6 separate regions of the Homo sapiens genome follow, and all the other regions are linked to region 3. Evidence: promoter capture Hi-C in 16 types of primary human blood cells and fetal thymus (Javierre and others, 2016). All regions are on one chromosome and are shown on one strand. The core of a region is centred on a gene start or on the middle of the fragment in contact, and the rest is flanking DNA. Distances in the headings are between cores, read along the strand shown.

The links. The method cuts DNA at HindIII sites, captures the fragments that hold promoters and counts their contacts. A CHiCAGO score of 5 or more calls a contact.
Region 1: a contact is called between a fragment that was not itself captured here and the fragment with the promoter of OR1G1 in region 3, in 4 of 17 cell types (M1 macrophages, M0 macrophages, endothelial precursors and 1 more). The highest score is 11.5, in M1 macrophages.
Region 2: a fragment that was not itself captured here is called in contact with the fragment with the promoter of OR1G1 in region 3 in 8 of 17 cell types (M1 macrophages, endothelial precursors, M0 macrophages and 5 more); the score reaches 15.6 in M1 macrophages.
Region 4: a contact is called between a fragment that was not itself captured here and the fragment with the promoter of OR1G1 in region 3, in 6 of 17 cell types (M2 macrophages, M1 macrophages, M0 macrophages and 3 more). The highest score is 12.0, in M2 macrophages.
Region 5: a fragment that was not itself captured here is called in contact with the fragment with the promoter of OR1G1 in region 3 in 11 of 17 cell types (endothelial precursors, M2 macrophages, M1 macrophages and 8 more); the score reaches 19.7 in endothelial precursors.
Region 6: a fragment that was not itself captured here is called in contact with the fragment with the promoter of OR1G1 in region 3 in 8 of 17 cell types (M1 macrophages, M2 macrophages, M0 macrophages and 5 more); the score reaches 15.5 in M1 macrophages.

The regions. Positions count from the first base shown.
Region 1 is chr17:3,427,220-3,431,364 of GRCh38, forward strand. No RefSeq gene overlaps it. Among named protein-coding and RNA genes, the nearest start is that of OR1E2, 4.5 kb to the right of the region's middle. The HindIII fragment of the contact is 1,055 bases long and covers 2,178-3,232 here.
Region 2 is chr17:3,388,500-3,392,665 of GRCh38, forward strand. No RefSeq gene overlaps it. Among named protein-coding and RNA genes, the nearest start is that of OR3A2, 4.3 kb to the left of the region's middle. The HindIII fragment of the contact is 947 bases long and covers 922-1,868 here.
Region 3 is chr17:3,125,322-3,129,254 of GRCh38, forward strand. OR1G1 (olfactory receptor family 1 subfamily G member 1) reads right to left here and starts at 2,230. Exons shown (of 1, transcript NM_003555.1): 1 at 1,289-2,230. The coding sequence starts at 2,230. The coding sequence ends at 1,289. The HindIII fragment of the contact is 3,090 bases long and covers 176-3,265 here.
Region 4 is chr17:3,411,271-3,415,309 of GRCh38, forward strand. It overlaps OR3A3 (olfactory receptor family 3 subfamily A member 3), which reads left to right and starts at 100. Exons shown (of 3, transcript NM_012373.3): 1 at 100-214; 2 at 708-901. The HindIII fragment of the contact is 6,248 bases long and covers 1-4,039 here.
Region 5 is chr17:3,465,742-3,470,143 of GRCh38, forward strand. SPATA22 (spermatogenesis associated 22) reads right to left here. Exons shown (of 9, transcript NM_001170698.2): 2 at 3,542-3,657; 3 at 1,685-1,813. The coding sequence starts at 3,584. Among named protein-coding and RNA genes, the nearest start is that of SPATA22, 3.9 kb to the right of the region's middle. The HindIII fragment of the contact is 927 bases long and covers 2,566-3,492 here.
Region 6 is chr17:3,445,075-3,449,247 of GRCh38, forward strand. It overlaps SPATA22 (spermatogenesis associated 22), which reads right to left. Exons shown (of 9, transcript NM_001170698.2): 6 at 3,733-4,075; 7 at 1,398-1,527. Among named protein-coding and RNA genes, the nearest start is that of OR1E2, 13 kb to the left of the region's middle. The HindIII fragment of the contact is 4,617 bases long and covers 616-4,173 here.

The DNA.
Region 1 (4,145 bases), core at 1,455-3,954, 300 kb after region 3:
ACTGATCATTAGAGAAATGCAAATCAAAACCACAATAAGATAACATCTCATGCCAGTCACAATGGCAATTATTAAAAAGTCAAGAAACAATGATGCTGGTGAAGCTGCAGAGAAATAGGAACACTTTTACACTGTTGGTGGGAATGTAATTAGTTCAATCATTGTAGAAGACAGTGTAGCAATTCCTCAAAGACCTAGAACCAGAAATACCATTTGCCCCAGTAATCTCACTACTGGGTATATACCCAAAATAATATAAATCATTCTGTTATAAAGGTACATGCACATATATGTCCACTGCAACACTATTCACAATAGCAAAGACATGGAATCAACCCAAAAGCCCATCAATAATACACTGGATTAAAAAAAATATGGTACATATACACCATGGAATACTATGCAGCCATAAAAAGGAATGAGATCTTTATTTAATTTATGGTCTTTTTTTTGAGACAGTGTCTCACTCTGTCACCCAGGCTGGAGTGCAATGGCACGATCTAAGCTCACTGCAACCTCCACCTCCTGGGTTCAAGTTATTCTCCTGCCTCAGCCTCCATAGTAGCTGGGATTACAGGCACCCGCCATCATGCCTGGCTAAGTTTTGTAGTTTTGTAGAGATGGGGTTTCAACATGTTGGCCAGGCTGGTCTCGAACTCCTGACCTCAGGTGATCTGCCCGCCTTGGCCTCCCAAAGCTGAAATTACAGGCGTGAGCCACTGGTGATCATGTCCTTTGCAGGGACATGGATGAGGCCAGAAGCCATTATCCTCAGCAAACTAATGCAGGAATAGAAAACAAAACACCATATGTTCTCACTTATAAGTGAGAGCTGAACAATGTGAACACATAGACACAGAGAGGGATACAACATACTGGGGCTTGTTGGGGTGGGGGGGCAGTAGGAGGGAGAGCATTAGGAAAAATAGCTAATGCTTGCTGGGCTTAATACCTAGGTGATGGGTTGATAGGTGCAGCAAATCACCATGGCACACATTTACCTGTGTAACAAACCTGTACATCCTGCACATTTGCCCTGTAACTTAAAATAAAATAAAAATAGAAACACAAAATTCCAAAACCTATAGAATACAGCAAAAGCAATATTAAGAGGGAAATTTATGGTAACAAACTCCTACATAAGAAATATTTCCAATAAACAACCTAGCAATATACCTCAAGGAACTAGAAAAGTGAGAACAAATCAAACCTGAAAGTAGTAGAAGGAAAGAAATAATAATAAAGATCAAAGCAGAAAGAAATAAAATTGAGACTAAAAATGTGAAATATTAATAAAATGAAAAGTTGATTTTCCTGAAAAGTTTAACAAAATTGGCAAACCATTAGCTAAACTAATTAAGAAGAGAGAAAACCCAAATAAATAAAATCAGAAATGAAAAAGGAGACATTATAAGTGATACCACAGAAACACAAAGGATCATTAGAAAATATTATGAACAACCATATACCAACAAATTAGAAAACCTAGAGGAAACAGATAAATTCCTGAAGATAAACTGCCTATAAAGATTGAACCAAGAAGAAAAAACAAACCTGAACAGACCAATAATGAGTAATAAGATTGAATCTGTAAGTAAACATCTGCCAACAACAACAACAACAAAAAAGTCCAGGATCAAATGGTTTCACTGCTGAATTGTTCAAAACTTTAGAGAAAAAAAACCCTTAATACAATTTCTTTTCAAGCTGTTTCAAAAAACAGAAGAGGAGGAAACTCTTCCAAACACATTCTATAAGGATAGCATTACCCTGATACTAAAACAAGACGAAAAAACAAAAATAGAAAACTAAAGGCCAATATCCCTGATGAACATAGATGCAAAAATTCTTCACAAAATACTAGCAAACAAAATCCAACAGCACATCAAAAAGATTATGCACTATGTTCAAGTGGATTCAAGTGGATTTATCTCAAGAATGCAAAGATGGCTCAACATATGGAAATCAACATATGAGATACATCACATTAACAGAATGAAGGACAAAACCCATATGATCATCTCAATAGACACAGAAAAAGCATTTGATAAAATTCAACATCACTTTATGAAAAAAATTCTCAATAAATTAGGTATAGAAGAAATGTACCTAAACACAATAAAGACCAAATATGGCAAACCCACAGCTAATATCATGTTGAACGGAGAAAAGCTGAAAGCTTTTTCTCTAAGAACTGGAATAAGACAAGGATGTGTACTCTTGCTAATCTTATTAAATATGCTACTGGAAATCCTATCAAGAGCAGTTAGACAAGAGAAAAAATAGACAGCATCTAAACCAAAAAGAAGGAAGTCAAATTGTCCTTTGCAGATAAATAGTCCTATCTATAGAAAAGCCTAAGAATCCCACCAAAATGTCTTAGATTTAAATTAAATTAAGCAAATTCAGTAAAGTTGCAGAATACAAAATCAACATACAAAAATTAGTAGCATTCCTATACACCAAAAACAAAGTAGCTGAAAATAAATCAAGAAAGCAATCCCACTACCTAGGAAAAAAATCTAACCAATCTCTATAAGGAAAATTATATGAAAGAAAATGAAGAGGATAAAAAAAAAAAAGGAAAAACATTCCATGTTCATGGATTGGAAGAAATAATATTGTTAAAATGACCATACTACCCAAAGCAATCTACCAATTCCATGTAATTCCTATCAAATAGAAATGATATTCTTTCATGAAATAGAAAAAAAAAATCCTGAAATTTATATGGAACCACGAAACACCCCAAATAGCCAAACCAATCCTGAGCAAAAAGAAAAAAACTCACTGTATCACACTACGTGACTTCAAACTACACTACACAACTATAGTAATCAAAACAGCACGGTACAGGTATAATAACAGACAGACCAATGGAACACAATAGAGAATCCAGAAATAAATCCATGTATTTACAGCCAACCAATTTTCAACAAAAACACCAAGAACATACACTGGGAAAGTCAGTCTCTTCAATAAATTGTGCTGTGAAAACTGAATATCTACATGCAGAAGAATAAAACTAGGCCCCTACCTCTCACCATATACAAATATTAACTCAAAATTGATTAAAGACTTAAATGTAATACCCAACACTATGCAACTACTAGAAGACAACATAGGGAAAATGTTTCAGCAACTTACTCTGGGCAAATATTTTATGGATAATACCTCAAAAGCACAGCCAACAAAAGAAAAAATAGACAACTTGGATTATATCAAACTAAAAAGCTTCTGCACAGCAAGAAAACCATCAACAGGATGAACAGAAAACCTGTAGAATGGGAGAAAATCTTTGCAAGCTATTCATTTGGTAAGGTTTTAATATCCAAAATGTACAAGGAATTCAACTCAACAGCAAATAATAATAATAATAATCTAAGTTAAAAAATGGGCAAAGGATCTGAATAAACATTTCTCAAAAAAAGACATACAAATGAACAACGTGTGTGAAAAAATGCCCAATATCACTAATTATCAGGGAAATTCAAATCAAAACCAAAATGAGACCTCATCTCACCCCAATTAATGTGAGTATTATCAAGAAAACTAAAAATAACAAATGCTGGCAAAGATATGGAGAAGGATAATTCTTATATATTGTTGTTGGTGGGAATGTAAATTAGTACAGCTATTATGGAACATGGTATGGAAGTTCTCATAAAAGCTAAAAATAGAACTACCAATTGATCTAGCAATCCCATTACTAGGTGTGTATGCAAAAGAAAGAAAATAGGTATGTCCAAGAGACATTTTCACTCCTAGCACTATTTATGTTAGCCAAGATATGGAATCAACCTAAGTGGCCAATCAACAGATGAATAATGAAAATATGGTGTATATATACACAATGGAATACTACTCAGTCAGTAAAAAGTATAAAATCTTGTCATTCATGGCAACATGGATGAGCCTGAAGGATATTTTGATAAATAAGTCAGGCACAGAAAAATAAATACCACATATTCTCATTCGTGTGTGGAAGCTTAAAAAGTTGGCAGTATAGAAGTATAGAGTAGAATATTGGCTGCTAGAGGCTGAGAAGGGGAAGAAGTGGGGTTATAGAGGTTAGTTAATAGATAAAAAATTATAGGATAGGAGGAATAAGTTCTAGTGTTCTATAGCGCTGTAGGATGACTCTG
Region 2 (4,166 bases), core at 145-2,644, 260 kb after region 3:
AAATTTAAAAATCAAAATAAGACTTCTACGCAAAGACAAACTGCAAAACCTGGCTCAATATATACAATGTCTGACTAGACCATTAAAATAAATATTTGAGGAGGGAAAACTTAGACTAATAATATAAAATAAGCCAAAAAATTATCTCTAATGAAAGTCTCGAAGCCGACAAGCATATGAAAACATATTCAACATTATTATTCATCAGGGAAATACAAATTAAAATCGTAAGATACTACTACATACCCATCAGAATAGCTAGAAACAAAAGATTGATAGTATCAAATGTTAGCAAGGATGTGGAGAAATTAACACCCTCATATATTGCTAGTAAGAATGTAAAAGAATAAAACTGTTCTGCAAACTATTTGCAGTGCCCAAAGTTTTAATATTTACCCAGCCTACAGCCCAGAAATTTTGCTCCTGAAGTACCCAAAATAAATGAAAACAAAAGATGTGTATTAGAATTCTCACAGAGGCTTCAGTCATAGTAGCTAAAACTGAAAAACCCAAATGTTCATCAGCAGAAAGAATAAGTACGGTGGCATAATCATTTCAATGGTGTACTATGTAGCAGTGAAAAAGATTGAACTCTGATGATTCACACGACATAGATAAATCTTTAAAACATTATGATGAGTAAAAGAATCCAGAAAAAAAAATATTGTATGATTCCATCTATTCAAAGTTCATGAGCTGGCAAATTTCTCTCTGGCAGTAGAAACCAGAGTAGTCATTACCTCTGGATGTGGGTGGGGACTCACGAGGAGGGGGCACAAGGAAAATTTCTGAAGTGACATAAATCCTCTGTATCTTGATCTGTACAGTGGTCACACGGGTGTCAAATTCAGCAAGCTGTACACTTAAGATTCGTGCACTATATTTAAATTATATTACAGTAAAAAAATCCTTGGGTGAGGAAGCTTTCTGGGTTTTTCAAAATTTCAAGGACCAAATACTCCCCTTTTCAGACGCTCAAGGAATAATCCCCAGGCTCTATATAATTCATTCCAGAACCAAAAATTAAGTAAAATTAAAATAGCTAATTTACTAAAGAAGAAAAATACAAGACACGAATACAATTATAGACCAGTTCTATCTGTGAAAATTGATATCAAAATGATGTCTAAAGCACAAATAATCCCATCTTTTCATATTTGAAATCACACTAATATGTTCAATTTAAACATTTAGGATTACCTCATCAGAGGCAAAAAGGCTTCTTAAAAAATCAATACCAGTTCCTGATCAAAGCTCAGAATAAAATAAAAAGCTACATCTTTAACAAAATGTGTTAGAGTCAGCCAAGGCTGTATCTTATCCTCTCTCTGGATGAGAACATTCTTTAATTCTCTAAATGGCAATAAAATGGAAATTATAGGACCCCTAGGTAATCCTATTAAAAGATTTTGCTCTCCCTTTATTCTTTATCAACTATAATACCAGGTATAATGTACACTGCTCCCAGCGAGGATTCTTCAATGCTTCAAACAGCTTCAGTGCCTCTGAACTCAGCAGTGGATTGCTTGCCCTGGACCTACCATCTAAGTCTCTGCTAGCAGCACTGAATGACTCGTACATAACAACGACATTGTAGTTACATACGAGAATGTTCTTTTGAGGAGATTCAGAACTCTAAATTATATAGTGATGAAGTGTCTTGATGTCTGAACATTATCTCAAGAGGCTCAGCCATTAAAAAAGAATAAAAAAGAAAGAAATAGGGTTGGGGAGAGTATAAATAAGAAAGAGAGGGAGGGAGGGAGGAACAGAGAGAAATTGACATATGCTACAAAAATGAGCAAATGGAATGTGGCCTGATTTGAGAAATTTATGGAGTGTGAGAAAGGGAAACTAATTTGACATTAAGCTTGTAACCTTTGCTCTGACTATCACAGGTTTAATAATGTAGGATTTTTTTTTAAATCTATGAGTTCAATCATACATCTTGCTTCTGAAGTGGTAATATTTACATAATTATAATATTATAAATTTTGTTTTCCATTTTTATTTTTAAAAACAAATCTCTCATTTCGTGTATATTGATTGTGGCATATAAACTTCAAACTTGCTACAAAATTCTTGGTCTTACTAAAGTGCAGAATAAGGAAAAAAAGAAACGATGATGTTCCAGATATAATAGCAGAAAACTGTTTAGAAATGCAAGTGCAGACTTGAAAATCAAAAGGAAACTTTTGTGCTATAAAAAATTATAATAAAAGTCAGCAAATACAAAAATATAGACTGATGAAAAAATAATCCTACATGCATCAGTGGGGGGAAAGATGACCATATAAGAAGTAGAGAAAAGAGAGAATATCAGCCTTACTTCAGATTTTTTCACAGCTATTTCAGAAAATGAGTTATAGATGAGAGAACAGATGTCCACAAATTTTATACCTAGCTAAGTCATCCTTCAGATATATAAATACATATGCAAAAGAAAAATCTAAAATATGTGAAAATTCAATAAATATAACATGGATGTACTAGTCCTTTAAAAATGACTTGATGCAATGCAACCAACCAAGGAATTAGTCAAAATTAAAAACTCGAGAATTTAAAAGTCATAATATTAAAAGGATGGTATGTAAAAATTTATTTAACAATAATAAAGAAAAATATGTGTTATGGTAATAAATGCAGATAGCATGCTTTATCTTTTAATAACAAAGTTGAATTTAAGGCAAACAGCATTACAGAGACCAAAATTCACTGCTATAATAAAGGAAATAAAAAGATTGTTTTAGGGTAAGGCCAGGTTGGAAAAGACAATATAGGTATAAAAAATATATCAGGAAAAAATGATATGACAGAGATAGAATGATTTTAACATTTTAGTAAGAATAAGTTAAGAAGGAAACATATGGATCAATAGAACAGAATAGAATCCAGAAACAGAACCAACCATCTTGAGTTAATTTTTGTATATGGTGTAAGGAAGGGGTCCAGTTTTAATCTTCCACATTTGGCTAGCCAGTTATCCCAGCACCATTTATTGAATATGGAATTCTTTCACCATTGCTTGTTTTTGACAGCTTTGTTGAAGATCAGATAGTTATAGGTATGCAATCTTATTTCTGGGTTCTGTATTCTCTTCTATTGGTCTATGTGTCTGTTTTTGTACCAGTACCACGCTGTTTTGGTTACTGTACCCCTGCTGTATAGTTTGAAGTGATGCCTCCAGCTTTGCTCTTTTTGCTTTAGATTGCCTTGACTATTTGGGCTCTTTTTTGGCTCCATATGAATTTTAAAATCGTTTTCTCTAGTTCTGTGAAGAATGTCAATGTTTAGTTTAGTTTATAGGAATAACACTGAATCTATAAATTGCTTTGGGCAATATAGCCATTTTAATAATATTTATTCTTCCTATCCATGAACATGGAAGGTTTTTCCGCTCATTTGTGTCATCTCTGATTTCTCTGAGCAGTGGTTTGTAGTTCTCCTTGTAAAGACCATTCACCTCCCTAGTTAGCTGTATTCACAGATATTTTATTCTTTTTGTGGCAGTTGTGAATGGGAGTGGATTCCTGACTTGGCTCTCTGCTTGACTGTTGTTGGTGTATAGGAGAACACCTGGACACAGAGGGGAGCAACACACACTGGGGACTATTGGAAGGTAGAGAATGGGAGGAGGGAGAGGATCAGGAAAAATAACTAGGGTTATTTTTCTACAAGTTACCCAGATAATTAAATAGTGAAAAGGATAGCATTTTTCAACAATTCATGGTCTAAAACTGGATACATCCCCAAAACTATCAAAAGTGAAAGAATGAACAAATCACGGTGTCTTTATACAATGGAATACTACTCAGTAATAAAAAAGTCACTGATCTACACAATTACATATGGGTACTAGGCTTAATATCTTGGAGATGAAATAATCTGTACAACAAACCCCCATGATACAAGTTTACCTGTGTAACAAACCTGCACATGTACCCCTGAACTTAAAAGTTAAAAAAAATAGATCCAACTATATATGGTCAACTGACTTTCTACAAGTTACCCAGATAATTAAATAGGGAAAATGATAGCATTTTTCAACAATTCATGGTCTAAAACTGGATACATCCCCAAAACTATCAAAAGTGAAAGAATGAACAAATCACGGTGTCTTTATACAATGGAATACTACTCAGTAATAAAAAAGTCACTGATCTACA
Region 3 (3,933 bases), core at 980-3,479:
TTATCTACAGCAATTACCATCTATGGCACAGCAGCCTGCAGTCAGATACCTGAAGGTAAACAGACAACAAGAATGAAAAACAGCACCCAGTTGTGACATTTTATTTTCCTATAGAAACGTATTGGTTGTGGCTGTAACGTACTGTACAGAGTCTTGCCACAACGTCTACTGACAAAGCTTTCCAAGTCGTTTTTGGCAACCATGCACAATAATCAATGTATTCTGAAACCGTTGGCCTGAGTTGACCTTGGGAGAAATACGGAAGAGTGTGGTTAACTGTGGACATCAGTTATGAACTGGTGGCACTGGGCTCGCATGCTACGGTAAACAGCTGGAAGTTGATTCTGCAGGCAGTTTCAAGCCACTGGACATTTCTCTTAGTGATATAATGGTACCCTATGAAGATTAATCTGATTATGGTGTACAGAGTTGATGGAAGGCGGGTAGACTGAGGACTGAAGACCAACTAGGAGGAGGCTTTAATCATTCAGGCAGGAGAGCATAAAGTGTCCATAAAAATCATTCTTTTCCCCTAACTTTAAGTTGTAACCATTTCAGTGGGATTCAGCACCTATCAATGGTACCAGGCATTACGCCATGTGGTAAGCATTGGGGCTGCAGAGATGAAATGAGTGTGGAAAAAATTGCCCTGAAGAGGAACCTGAGGTTTTCACATGAAGTCTAAGGTGGCAGGAGGATTATGGGTCTTGGAGGCCTGGTAAGACACTGCAGTGAGTCTGTCTGAAGATGCCATCTCCATCAAGCCCTTCCTAGACCCAGTTCCTCATCACTGAGCATGGGAGCATCACAGATACGGGCAGTGCCTGTGGCAGAAACACTGTGGGTGGGGATCCGAGTGATCAGGATCACAGTGATGCTGGGGGAAGGTCGTCCTTCCCTGAATTTTATTCTTGGCCCTATACAACAGCCCAGCCAGATATTCCCTTATTTCAGTCATGAGCTGTCCCATGTTGTTTAAAAAGCATTAACTAATAACATTATTAAATCATCAATATTATTAACTATAGTAAATATAATAAGGCATGACATTATATTATACATCTGGATGGCTGTGGTTTTAGAACATAATTGTAAGAACTTCACCTGTGACATTGGCCTGATGATGGGTTATGATGCAGTCCTGTAGCTTAGACATGAATATTTCAGGTTCAGATCGTAGGTACTGGAACAGAGGTCTCTAGATTCTCTCCATCTTTCATTCTTCACTGCTTACTGTGGTGAACGCAGGTGCATGGAGACCCCCATATTGGATGTCAAGTCACTACCACTAAGGGGAATGAATTTTCCGAACCCAGATTAACTTTCTCAGGGAAGACTTTATTTCTTGGTTCCTCAAACTGTAGATAAAGGGATTCAACATTGGAGTTACCACTGTGTACATCACTGATGCAACTGTGTCCTTCTGGGCCGAGTGGGTTGAGGGAGAACTGAAATCAACACAAAAAGAAGTCCCAAAGAAGAGAGAGACCACGGAGAGATGAGAGCTGCAGGTGGAAAAGGCTTTCCGCTTCCCCTGAGCTGATGGGATCTTCAGGATGGTCGAGAAAACGTTCGTGTAAGAGATAATCAGGCAAAGCACACAAATGAGTCCTGTGAGACCCCCAGTGATGAAGATCACCAGCTCATTGGTGAAGGGGTCTGTGCAGGACAGACTCAGGAGGGGATTGATGTCACAGAAGAAGTGTGGGATCTCATGGTTTGCGCAGAAGGACAGGCTGTTCATCAGAAGTGTGTGTAGAAGGGAGTGGAGGGCATTCATGATCCAGGATGCAGACACGAGGAAGATGCAGAGCCCAGGGCTCATGATCAGAATGTAATGAAGTGGGTGGCATATGGCCACGTAGCAGTCATAGGCCATGACCGCCAAGAGGAATGCCTCCAGCATCACAAATAACATGAAAAAATACAACTGTAGTAGACACCCTGAGTAGGAGATGGCCTGACTCTGGATCTGTATGTTTGCCAGCATCTTAGGGACTGTGGTGGACACAAAGCAGGCATCTGCAAGGGAGAGGTTGGCTAGAAAGAAGTACATGGGGGTATGGAGTTGAGTGTCAGTAATGATGACTAGAATGATGAGGAGGTTGCCTGCCACCGTGACCAAGTACATGAACAGGAAGGACCCAAAGAGGGGCTTCTGCTCCTCCAGCTGCTCAGAGAACCCCAGGAGGAAACATTCTGAGATGCTGGTCAGATTTTTCCCCTCCATTTGTCTGTAGGAAGAAAGTTGGGTTAATTGGGTGACGTTGGTAAGCCCTGGATTGTGAACTCTGAAAATTATGCAATATTCCAGTGTTGATCTTCTAGTGTGAGGTTGGATCATAGGAAATCTCCACTATTTGACTCTTTGGGACCTGCAAAAATGGCCATTTCATAGGGTTCGACTAAATATTTGCAAATTCCTGTGCTTGGTGCTATGAGAAACCACAGATTTGTTTGTAATGCAATGAGAGGCTTTTAAATTTATTCCATAAGCATTAAGCCAATATGTGTATTTTGGGGCTGGGCTGGAGGGGCTTGCTGGCTTTGCTCTGGTAGTGTTCATGTAGAAACTATGACATTTATACAACCCAAGATTTTACAGGTCAAATGAGCCCATTGTACCAATAATTAAAAAGACAGCTCCTGGAAAGGGGTTTTGGAATTGGGAAAAGCATGGCTAACATGGAAATCATTATCACTGTTATCTACACAGCGGGTCTGGCCAGAAACCTGAGCGTCATTATTGACCCACGTTTCTCCCTCCCTGCCTACATCCAACCACCACCAAAGCCTGGCAATTTTACCTTCTCAATATGGCTACAATTTACTGACGTCTCTCTGTTTACTGGTCACCATCAGTCCCAGCTGCAGCTCATGTCATTCAGGGCACTGTGATTTCTCACTTGGATTTGGGCAGTTGATCTCCATGCCCCCAGGTATGCCCACCTGCCACCTGCTGTTCTAAATACACAGAGAATAGGCTTGCTAAAAATCAAATTCGACTCTTGTCTTTCTGCTTGAAAAATCCTTCATACACTCCTCATTACTCCCAGGATAAACTCTAAACTGAACACGGCTGAATGTCCTGGATCTTACCGTCATTTATTACAGACATCCCCAGTTCCTCATGAAACTCCCTCCTCCACTCCACACTTTATGCACTAATCATAGTTTCAATTATTTTAAAGGCCCAGATACTCCCTCACCTTTAGGCTTTCTCAGGCTGAAATAGTTTTTCCCATCCCATTTATCAGACGAGCTAAGCTTCAGGTCTCACCTTAGATGTCACCTCTTCTGGGAAGTCTTTCCCAACTCATCCTCTCACCAGAAACTCAGGTTCGTGACCTTCCTAATGCAGTGCCTCCCCCATCACAGCACGTGTCACCTTGGATTCTGAGTGTCTGTTTATATGAGTGTCCCTCATTCTGCTGTGAGCATCACTGGGAGTAGGCAGAGATGGTGCCTAATTGGCTCAGCTTTGAAATCTAGCATTAGCCTTGAGGCTGGTACAACACAGATGCTCAGTATGAATCTATCATGTAAATACATAAACCCCAGAGAATGGAAAGAGTGGGAAGAATGGAAAGGGGCTTTGCTATAGAGGTAATATCAGGCATAAGAATTAGCCTGAACCTTTATTATTATTGTTATGATTTTTGAGATGGAGTCTCACTCTGTCACCCAGGCTGGAGTGCAGTAGCACGAACTCAGCTCACTGCAGTCTCCACCTGCTGGGCTCAAGTGATTCCCTTGTCTCAGCCTCCTGAGTAGCTGGGATTACAGGCCACTGCTACCACACCTGGCTATTTTTTTTTTTTTTTTTTTTGTATTTTTAGTAGAGATGGGGTTTCATCACATTGGCCAGGCTGGACTTGAACTCCTGACCTCAGGTGACCCACCTGCCTCGGCCTCCCAAAGTGCTGGGATTAC
Region 4 (4,039 bases), core at 1-2,500, 280 kb after region 3:
AAGCGCCTCACTACTGAGGGCTCAACAGGAAACCAGCTTTGAAGAACACTTTCCCCTCTTATATCCCTTCTGGGGCCTCCTCCTCCTCCCTCCCCAGGTCCAAGACAAGTTCAGGAATTTGCTTGTCTCTGCTCAAATGCCCTGGTTGATATCTGAGAAAGAAGAGGCAGGCGGATCATGAGGTCAGGAGACTGAGACCATCCTGGCTAACATGGTAAAACCCCGTCTCTACTAAAAAAATACAAAAAATTAGCTGGGTGTGGAGGCAGATGCCTGTAGTCCCAGCTACTCGGGAGGCTGAGGCAGGAGAATGGTGTGAACCTGGGAGAATGGCGTGAACCTTGCAGTGAACCGAGATCGCACCACTGCACTCCAGCCTGGGCGACAGAGCGAGACTCCGTCTCAAAGAAAAAAGAAAAGAAAAGAAAATGTCTCCTTAGAAAGCCCATATAGAGTCTCCAGCTGCACCTCTCCCTTCCTGGGGGACTTTGAGGACATAGGCAAGTCCTGTAGGCCTCAGTGACCCACATTAAGCAGAGCCGACATCATCTGCCGTAACAACCTGCCCACAAAGCCAGGGCTAGAGGCAAAGCCTTCCTTGTGAGAAAGTCTAAATACCAGAAGGTGTGAGGCATCGTTGCCATGAGTATGAAGGGCCTGAGGTGTCTCCTTTTCCGTGTCTCTCCCCCCATCCTTCTCTCTCCTAGGAGAGCCAGTTTCTGAGTGCCCCAGAGGAGAATGCTGTAGTGAACACAGCCCTGTACAGAGAAGACAGCAGCTTGATTCCTCTCATTTCTCAGTCATTAGCCCCTCACTCGCTCTCCGGGAGGATAACGGGGTGTGTGCAGCTCCTCCCCTTCTTTCCTGAGGAAACCTCAGTGGCTTCCGTGCCCTTGCCAGGGTGAGTGTTCTCCTGAGTCCTTCCTCTGCTCCTACAGAATAGAGAAGGGGCTTCTGTTGCCATCAGCTTAGTAAGCCTGGTGCGATGGATGCCCCTGACAGGGAAAGCCATTTAGGGGAAGACCTGGCACTACAGCCCGGAGGTCCTGGGTTCTTTTGTGGTTTTCCCCGTGCTCGCCTCTCTCAGATGAAGCCTGCTGCCTGTTAGCATGAGTGTGAGGAGACTCGCTCAGACCAGTTCACTGCCCGCACCCACTGCATCAGGCAGCGGGGAACCCTCGCTCCAGCGAAGTCCTTGAGCCTCGTCATGTTGGGCGCGTGAGGGATGGGCTGGAGTTCCAGAGCAGGGAGCTGTCACAGCTCGTAAGGGGAGCCTCGAGAGTGGTCGTGCAGGAGGGCTCCCCAGTGGGCCTCGTGGGGACCCTGTCAGACCCTCTGGGTGTCTCAGGGTGACCTGAGGTCATCCCAGAATCCCCCTGGTTTTAAGCAATTGTATCTCTAGCTGTCTGAGGGTTGGCAACAGCTGTTTAGTGGTTCTTCTACCCCTGACCATGACTTACTTGTCTGTAAGGTGTGGCCCCTCCTAAGGGCCGTATTGTTTTGGGAGGTTTAAGTAAAAAGAAGCATGTGGACTGGTCCATGACCTGCTTGTCCTGTTAACACAAAGGAGTCCCTGCCACAACCTTGCACCCTGCATTTAACCTGTACCTCCCCTAAAGCACACTAAGCCAGGAAAGTCTAGCCCAAATATTAATGTGTCCGGAAAGTCTTCCATGACAACTCTAGCTTATACTGATGCTCTCTTTCTCTGAAATTGTACGAACGTTAGAACAATTGATAATTCGTTTCACAAATATTGAAGTATTATGATGGTTACTGCTATTGAAAAGACTGAATCAAACATGTTTTGTCCTCGAATTACTTACAGAGATGTAAGAAAGATATGTTCTATAGAGCAATGACTGAACTGGAAGGTAAAGCATAGTAAGTTGCATGAAATAATATGTGTGGGAGTTTAGGAGAGAAGCAGCAGGAGGGAGGCAAAGACAGGGAAAGAGAGAAACAGAGAGACAGGCAGGAGTGAGAGGGAGAGTGATCCTTTTGAGATGGGAAAGTTTCACGGAAAGATGAGTTCAGCAGCCAGCAACTGGCGTCAAGTCTTGAAATATTTGGGAAGTGGACTTGGAGGAAAACTATCGCAAAAATATCTTCTTCAAAAGAACATATGTACAGAGCTGTTACCTACCCACTGATTTGCCAATTTGCAAAGCATTTACAATTACCAATTTCATCAAGATAATCATACCAGAAGATGATTTCTTCCCACTCCCAAGTCATGTGATCTTAGAATTTTAAGGACCTGGATGGATGCGGTGGCTCACGCCTGTAATCCCAGCACTTTGGGAGGCCGAGGTGGGCGGATCATGAGGTCAGTTGTTCGAGACCAACCTGGTCAACATGGTGAAACCCTGTCTCTACTAAAAATACAAAAATTAGCCGGGCGTGGTGGCAGGCACCTGTAGTCCCAGCTGCTCGGGAGGCTGAGGCAGGAGAATCACTTGAACCTGGGAGGTGGAGGTTGCAGTGAGCCAAGATCATCAAAATCATGCCACTGCACTCCAGCCTGGTGATAGAGCAAGACTCCATCTCAAAAAAAAACAAAAAAACAAAAAACAAAAAAAAAAAACTTTAAGGACCTCTTAGAGATTACCGCATCCACATTCTCATCCATGTGGCATCCCCTCTGCAGCTTCCCCGTGGCCTGAGCACACACAGTGGAGACCTCATTTGGAAGGCTGGTCATCGAGACAGCCTCACATTGGAGACATCCTCTTGCTGTAGAGACTCCAGTGAGATGCACGTTATCCACATGAAACTGCGGGTCAGTCTTTAGAGACTACCTTGACTCTTTTTTTTGAGACAGAGTCTCAGACGGAGTCGCCCAGGCTGGAGTGCAGTGGCGCAATTTCAGCTCACTGCAACCTCCACCTCCCGGGTTCAAGCGATTCTCCTGCCTCAGCCACCCGAGTAGCTGGGACTACAGGTGCCCGCCACCGCACCGGACTAATTTTTTGTATTTTCAGTAGAGACGGGGTTTCACCATGTTAACCAGGATGGTCTCGATCTCCTGACCTCATGATCCGCCCACCTCGGCCTCCCACAGTGCTGGGATGACAGGCGTGAGCCACCATGGCCGGCCAGGATTTTTTTGAAGCTCCACATATTTCTACTGTGCAGCTGAGGTTGAGACTCACTGCAGTACATTTTCATAGAGCATCAGCGAGGAATGAATGCCCGGTGGATTTCCTAACATCTTTACAAAGAAAGAAAAACACGATGCAGGAAGGTAGTGTGAATTCTCCGAAACGATCTCAGGATTTTAAGAGTCACAAAACCCATCTGATAGTGCTTTGACAATTGGAGCAGCAATGCGATCAGAGACCACTGGACACATTCTTGGTAACTGGAGAAAAGACCCAAATCACCTCAGGATGTCAGAGAAAAGGCATTTACTGGCAAGCCAGGAGATAGCTCATCACCAGAAATGGAATTTGGTTGACAGGAAGTAAAATAGCCTGGGAGAGCTGCTGTCTACTCCCAGAACCCACCCAAGGCTCTTCTGTGGATAGCAACTACCGCAGCGTGCAAGGCAAGGGACTTTGAAATTTACAAGTCGTAGCCACTGAGAGGGTGGGAATAATTCGATCATTCATAAAAAGTATATTAATAATCATTAAAAAAATAATATAGGTAATATGTTAACATTTAAAATCTCCAATGAAAAACACTAAAACCCATTATATTACTACCACTCTTTGAAAACCACTGCAATAGCTCAGAGTTTCCTTCTGTTTATTATATGTGTATGTGGTAACAGTGAGATCATATTTTAAGTATACAGTTTTGTCTTTCCTTTTACTTACTGAATATCTTACCACAAGAATTTGCTTGATTTTAAAGTCATTTCTGTTAATGTGAATTTTTTACAATTATTTTTTCTAGTTTATTATGGTATATATAAGAAAACAACATATTATCGTATATTATTTTTATATTTACTTTTTATCTTGAAATTTTCCTATACTTTCATATTTTTAAGAGTTTTCCAGCTGGGCTCGGTGGCTCACACGTGTAATCC
Region 5 (4,402 bases), core at 1,779-4,278, 340 kb after region 3:
TCCCCCTCTGTGAGAAACACCCAAGAATGATCAATAAAAATAAAAATTTAAAAAACAAAAAAAAACAACACTGATGCAGTCCTATCTCTTACCCAATACAGGAAAACTACTATTTCTGACAAATAGTAACCCTGGTCCGAGCTTGAAGTACTTCAGGAGGACACACATTTCCTTATGGAGTAGCTCAATTTTTCAAGGTCAACATTCATGCTACTTATAAAAATATTTTAAATGACGGAATGTTTTTTAAATGGTGGAGTATGACCAGATAAATGCCCAGTTGTGCATATCCATGTGAATTTATGATTTTTATACACAAAAATTGGAAATATATGAACTTCACACTTAAATTTCTTCAAATATATCTTTTATATATTTTGTTTTCTTTAAACAAAATACAGATTTAGAAGTATATTAAAGTCTATGGGAGCACACTAGATGAAATTAACAATACAAGTATTGCTACATCAGAGATATTTTTAAATTCTAGCTATATAAGATCCTATTAATTTTTAAAATGTGCCCCCAAAATGTAAATGTATATAACCAGCATGTACCACGTATACTTCAGAATGTCTGCCTGCCCATTCCTCTTCCAGAGGAAAGTAAAAAGTCAACAACAACCATTAAGACCTCCCAGCACCCACCAAACCTCAGCTAACTGGTTCAGAGGTAAGAGGCCTAACCCAAACCTAAGCCAGGATTTCAGTGGCCTTACTTAAAAGATGAGCTGAATCACAAGCTGTCTCTAGGATGTGAATTAAGAGATCCAGAGGGCAGTCTACTGGTGACCTCTGAGAACTAGAACTAAAAGGTTATGCAAACTCACAGGAAGGGCAACTTAGCTCATGTGCCAGTTGAAGCTGTAAGGAAGCCAACTGGATGAAGGTGTGTCTTAGTCCCTTTGGACTCTACTATAACAAAATACTTTAGAACGGGTTATTTACAAATATGATAAATGTATTTCTCAGTTTTGGAGGCTGGGAAGTCAAGGCTTCTTACTGTGTCCTCACATGACAGAAGGACGGAAAAGCTCCCTCATACCTTTTATAAAGTCACTAATCTCATTCATGAGGGCTCTGCCCTCATGACTTAATTACCTCCTGAAGGCCCCACATCTTAATACTATCACACCAGCAATTAAGTTTCAACATATAAATTGGGGGGGATCACATTTGGACCATAAACAGCTAACAAATCAATGAAGGCAAAAATGCCATAAAAAGAGAAAAAGACTACGGCCAGGCACCAGATACTTCCAGGCATCTGCACTTCCTAAAATCTATCTTTTTTTTCCCATTTTTCCTGTGTTCCCATGCACACTTATCCCCACTCCTGAGGCAATTCAAGTGTTTCCATTCTTTACCACCAAATGTATAGGCTATAACACAATATCCACGTGAATTTTGACAAAGAAAAAATATTTTTTACAATATATGTTACTACTTTATTAGAACAAAGACTCCAAATCTAAGATACTCCATTTAAATGCTAAGCCACCCTTGTAGATAAGGAAACTTAAACTCCTGACCTGGAATGTTCAGAAAGTGCTATGTAATTTCTATATGTGGATAATGGAAAGAAGAAAAAATAAACTTTCTATTTTCATTATAATATAAATTACAATTTTCTATAATCCTAGTTTTGTATTTCCTGAAAATTTTTACCTTATTAATTTTCTTACCTGTAGGTAGAGGAGGAAAATCATAATTGTCAGAAGGGGTACTGATACCTGAATCATCTTTAAGTGGATTAGAAGTTAATGGCTGTCTGTTCCTCTTTTTCTGATTGAACAACGGAACAGGCAAACAGCCTAAATTGAATGTACCAATAAATTAGTACATAATAGACAAATAAGCAGATCTAGTTGTAAAATAATTACTAGTATAATACACACTTTACATTTATCTACTTCTATATGCTAATATACTTATAGATTTCTATAACCTTAGAATGATTTTTACATTCTTTTTAAGATCCTGAATAGCCTAATTTGTTTCTTCAAAAAACTTTTCTTATTCTACTCTAACAGTTTTAATTCCTCCCATATGGAAGTAATTCCCATCTCCCCCCTCATCCCCCAACCTTTCCAAATCCACTTTTTGTTTTCCTTATCCCCCTCCTGTGCTTGCCTGTTACCATATCGACTGCAGGGGACCTTTGAAGTACAACAGAGGTGAGGAAGAACCAAACTCTGAACCATGCTTTGGACAATAGTGGCACACCCTTTTGGGCCTTGGTTCTCAAAGTTTCATTGGACTAAGATTTATCTGGAATTCTGCTTAATGTGCAGTTCCTAGACTCCACTCTCATAGATTTTATTTCAACAGATTTAGCCTGGAACTCAAAACTCTGCAATTTTAACAAGCACCTCGGGTATCTGTAATTATATATTTTGTGGATCATTTTGAGAATGCCTTAAAGAGTAATAATATCCAGTCCAAATGAGAATAAATACTACTACCGATTCCTCCAGATGGCGGATCTAGGATCTCAATTCAGGTCAAAAGTCACAAAATATAAACTTTGAAACTTAGGGAACTCGAAGGGAAAAGAAGTTCAAAAAGCTTGTGCATTGCTATAGAGCAAGTCAGTGGAAGAATCTAGATAGGACACAAGATTCCTAAATATCAGTTTGGATCTCTTGCCACTGTACCATTCTCTAACTGGTCATCATCAATTGTTCTACAGGCAAATACAGACTCTGTGAACAGTCTCTGATGAAAGGCTGGGAGAATTATGTGGGCTCTGGAATCAGACCGCCTAGGTCTTGAATTATGACTTCAAAGTAGGTTTGAATTACAATTTCAGAGTATGATCTTGGGCAATTTCCCTAAACTCTTTGTGCCAATATGACATATACTGATAGCATAATGATTAAGAGCATGGACTAAGAGCCAGATTCCTAGGTTCAAATTCTGATTCTGCTACTTCATGGATTACTTATTTAACCTCTTTTAGCCTTGTTTTTCTCATCTGAACAACAGAAATGATTATAATAACCTATCTCAGGGTATTGGTGTAAAGATTAAATAAATTAATATATATAATTAATGTCTTGAATACAGTTAATCCACCATAAATAATAGTTACTATTATCTTCATTATGCATCATCATTCCCCTGGTTCTCATCATCCTTGCCATCTGTCTTTATACTAATAAATTGGGAAAGCAAAAATGATAGGAGAAGCTATTAGAAAGACAGAAGTGCTTCCGGAAATATTTTTAACAAGTAAGTCACAAATACAAACAAAAATAGATCTATTTCTTTGTTTTCAGTTTTAAAGCATAGAATAACTCAAGCACATCGAATTTGTAGAAAGAATATCAAAATAAATCTAAGAAACTTTGATCTTACTCCCACCTCTACCACTAAATGTTTTGTCTTGAGTAAGTTATTTTACTTCCTTGGACCTAAAAAGTAAAGAGGCTAGATTAACTGTTCAATCTATTTTAAATTTATTTCCAATGTTATATCTATAAACTATACAAGCTTTATATGCTATACAGAAAATTTAAAAATAAAAAGTTGTTCAATACCTGCTGTACTTCGAGCTGAATTTTCATTTAGGCTTCGCTTCATTTCCTTCAATATCAAAATCTATAATTTTCTATTCAGCATTCCAAATTTATAATATGACATTGTCCCACTAGACCTGCAAAGAAAGAAACTTATAACTCGTATTGTCTCAACTATAAAACCCAATCCTCAGCCCAGTGATTACTGAAATTATGGTTGTAAACTACTTTCAAACCTGATCACGTAAACACTTTAGGGAGTCCTTTGCTTTCTAAGAGTTTACACCATAATCCACTTTTCCAACCCTGTTCAAATTAAGTTATGACTAGGGCAACTGTAACCTTGCTTCGTAAACATATGTGCATTTTTTCACACAGTATATGTAATTTATTTCAGAATCCCGCACCCACAAAGAGAATTCTGAACCACACCTACAAAGAGGAAAATGGACCACAGCGTTGGCAAACGTACATGCTTCCAAGGCCAAGGAGGAAACACAGTATTTAGCCACCGGGAACTTCCTCCATGCCCCACTTTAAGGCATTGTGCAGGACATCTGCCTTTGCATCAGTTTGAAATGCCTGGATTATATAATATCAAAGACTAAGTCTTCCTGAGGTCAGGAGTTCAAGACCAGCCTGGCCAACATGGCAAAAGCCCATCTCTACTAAAAATACAAAATTAGCCAGGAGTGGTGGCGGGCGCCTGTAATCCCAGCTACTCGGGAGGCCGAGGCAGGAGAATCGCTTGAGCCCGAGAGGCCGAGGTTGCAGTGAGCTGAGATCGTGCCACTGCACTCCAGCCTGGGCAACAAGACCCAGACTCCATCTCAAAAAAAAAAAAAAAAAAAAAAGACTAAGTCCTCCCTTCATATCTAGAAT
Region 6 (4,173 bases), core at 1,674-4,173, 320 kb after region 3:
GGCTCAGGTTATTTTAATATTTATATTCTGTAAATGAGGTGAGAGCCAAAGGCATCTTTCACACAGGAAAAAGCAATTTAGTGGGAAGTCCAACAGGGGTTAAGATCTTTGAAATAAGATGTTCTACCTCTGACAGTATTCTAGCTCTGACAGAAAACTGACATGAAATAGAATACCATCTGCTATTGCAGTTACGTGGCTACTGGTAAGAACTGAACAAAATAAGAGCTAAGTCAAGCTTCAACAGAGTAGTAACAGTCATGCCAACCAGCTAAGAGATATGCTTCAAGCAACATGAGTAGGACTTGATAAAGAATCCCTGAAGTATATGGGAGTTCCAGAGGCCAGAGGCATGGAAACCTCCAAAAAGCCAAAAACGAAAACTGAACAAAACCAGCCCAGCCAACACCTTGATTTTAGCACTGTGATACCCTGAGTATAGAACGCAGTCAAGCCCACATGGACTTCTGATCTACAAAACTTGAGTTAAGAAGTGGGTGTGGTTTTTAGCTGCTAAGTTTCCATTACTTTGTTACGCAGCAATTGAAAATGAATACAGCGTGCTTTACTCAAAGTCTGAGTCTCTATTGAATCCAATGTCACTTTATATAATAAAGCTTTTTCCTTAATGGTAACAAGAGAGAAACTGGAATCATTTTTAGGTGAAAGTTAAACATGTGAAATGACTGCACTGATAGAAATCTACATCTATATATACACACATTTATATTTACATATATATATATAACAGGACAAAAGGAAAAGGAGGAGGCTGTATCAGTTTCCCATTGCTGCTTACAAATTACCACAAACTTAGTGGTTGGCTTAAAACAACACAAAAGCATTATCTTAATAGTTACGGAGGTCAGAAGTCTATAATGAGTCATCAAAGCCATGTTCCTTTTGGAGGCTCTAGAGTAAAATCTATTTCCTTAATTTTTCCAACTTCTCAAAGATGCCTGCATTCTTTGGCTCATGGCCCCTTCCTCCATCTTCAAAGCCAGCAAGGTAGCATCTTTCAATGCTTTCCTTGTATAAGGGACCCTTGTGATTACATTGAACCCACCCAAATAATACAAGATAATCTTCCCATTTCAAGATCCCTAACTTAATTACATCTGCAAAGTCTCTTTTGCCATATAAGGTAGCATTCACAGGTTTTGGTAATTAGAATGTAGGCATTTTAGGGTGCATTATTCTGGTAATTAGAATGTAGACATTTTTAGGGAGCATTATTCTATCTACCACAGGGACTATTATTAAAACCAGTTCTTTGAATACACTTTAGGGAGTAGCAAAAAGCAGACTGTTTTATTTGGAAGAAAAAGGACTAATCAGACATTAAAACCTGTCCTCCAGAGAGTATTACTGAAGTATTTTTAAAGTATTTTACCTACCTAATACTTCAAAAAGAAGTACAGTTTTCTGTGCATGTTCACGCCAATACTTCATGCTTTCAATAACTGCAGAAATAATTCTTAAAGAACTAGCTTTTTCCTTAAACTGTAACTGATACAATGAGGTTTCCTTTTGAAAAAATAAGAAACATAGTATTAGAAAAATATTTGTTTTTTTCATCATACTCGTTTACCTTCTACGTAAAAATTCTAAGTCCTTACAATGGACAAGTGTGTAAAAAGAACTACTGAAAATTTTAGTATAGTTACTTCCCTAAAATAAGGCCATCAATACTATATTACAGATGGAGAAACCAGGGTGCACTTAGAGACAATCAAGAGGAGAATTATTTATATAGGTATTCATTCACTCATTCATTCATTGACTATTTTAAAGCATCATATGCCAGATCCTGTGACAAATATAGGTAAGGCCATTCCTTTCCCTAGTGCACTCACACTCTAGGGGACTCTAGGGAAGGAGCCAGACACATTCATTCATTCATTCGTTTCAAAAGTGTTTACTGAGCACCTACTACATGCCAAACATAGCTATTTAGGAAAAATTCATGGACAAAACAGTCAAGATATCTGTCCTCGAAGATTTTATTGTCTAGTGGAGGATTTAAAAAATAAGTAAACATATAACAGAATGTCAGGAAATGTACTTTTTTTTTAGGAAAAAAACACACAAGGTAAATGGAAAGAGAGAGAGATGGGGGTTATTATTTTAAGTGGGTTGTTGAATGAGGACAGTGGGAACAGCAAGTATAAAAGCCCTGAGATGGAAATGTTCTTAGCATTTTTGAAGATCAACTAAGAATACAGTGTGTTAAAATACTAATTTTCAAAGGCAAGGGGACGCTTTCCTTTGTGAGGGTGAGGGTTGTGAAGAACATATGATGGGACCTTTTTTCAAAATACAGGTAGTTTCTTCCCTCTTCCCCCGCTTAACGAAGATTCTAACATGCCTCCTGTTGATGATGGCCACAGTAAACCACTGTTACTAAGGTGATTATGTCATATAATTCTTGAGTACAAGGAAACATAAGATTGAGAACCACTGTGAAACATGCTTTATTAATCTTATTTCCAACAAAAAACAAAACATGCAAAAACAAATTTTACCCCGATGGCTTTTTGAAAAGATTGCTTTTTCAGACATAAGGGCAGAACAAAAACTAACAACTGTAAGAAGTTGTTACCATTCCTAGGCTGAAAGGACAAGAGGAGAAAATAAAAGTATCACGCCCAGGAAAGCTATACTCATGAAGGGGCTACATCATGCAGTGACACAGCCACTGCTGGTGATGTAACATTTAAGACAGGAGAAAGTGAGAAAACCCAACCTTTCCTCCCACCCTATGATGTCGTACCAGTGACTCCTACTGGCTGACCTCTAGCAAAAGCCAGCAAGTAAACAATCTCAGGATGATGCACTACATAGGACAGTTCAGCCTTCCACAACAGAGAAGGGCAGGTGAAGAATCAAGTGGGCCAAGGGGCCAGGGAGCAGAGATGAGGAATAACCAGCACACATAATATATAAATAACATTTACAAAGAGCAATCAGAGCACTGAGCGTAGAGAGGAAGTACAGTTGAGATACAGGTATAGGGAAGAATATAAACCAAAGCACAGAGTGTATGCTATGTTTAGAGAATTGTGACGAGTCTGAAGTGGCTAGAGCATTGGACAATTAGTAGACTATGAAATATGAGGCTACAAAGGTAGACTAGGACAAGATCATAAAGCAAAGGTCATAATAAGTTGATCATAAAGAAAACTATGGCCTGCAGTGCAAATCTAACCTGCTATCTATTTGTGTAAACATTTGTTGGAGGAGAGCAGTGTCCATTCATTTATGTATTGCTTATGGCTGCTTCCAAGCTACAGTGGCAGAGTTGAGTAGTATTGCTGAGTAGCTGCAACAGAGACAGTACGGCCCATAAAGCCAAAAATACTGTCTGGCCCTTTAAGAAAAATGTTTGCTGACCTCTGTTGAAAAATACTTAGAATGACATATCAAGAGCCTGGGTAACTTCATAAACAATGGATAAACTGTCTTTATCTTTAAAATGAGTGTAAAGTGAAAGTCAGAATCCAGCAGAAAACTCTAAAGTTTGAAAGGAAAAGGAGCAGCCATTCATACCCTCTAAGAAAATATTTTGGAAACTAACATTCATCCACTTCAATGGAACTGAATATTTATGCTAATCAAGTAATGTATGTCATGGAATTTATTTCAGGCGCTCTTATCTCTGTAGTTTTCTAAATATTTACCTCATATTTTTAAAAATGTAAATAAGTCATTAATTTGTATTTAAACATTTACCTTCAGGGTGTTGTCTTCTGGAATATCATCCAACATTTGTTTCTTATATTGATTTTGTTGAAAATTGGGCTTAAGTGTCTGTAGTGCACTGTTTTTGTCTAGCCCTCTCATTGTGCAGCCAGATATTTTTGATGAATGTGTTTGTCTGAGTAGCTCGGTTTCTTTGTTGCGAGATAAGTTAGGAGGTTCAGGTATTCTTAATTGTTTTTGTTGTTGAGCTCCCGAACTCACTGGACAAGAATTTTTTCCATCATTTGCCACTAAGTTTGTTCGTTTACATTGAGGCTTAAAATCATTTTTATTCCAAGTTTTCAAGCTGGTATTTTTGTTACCATCTCTGTAGCTGTAATAGTGCAAAAAAAAAGCATTTGTTTCTATATGGTTTCTTAATTACAAAAAAAATTAATAATGAAAAATTCATTTATATGGCAATTTATGACT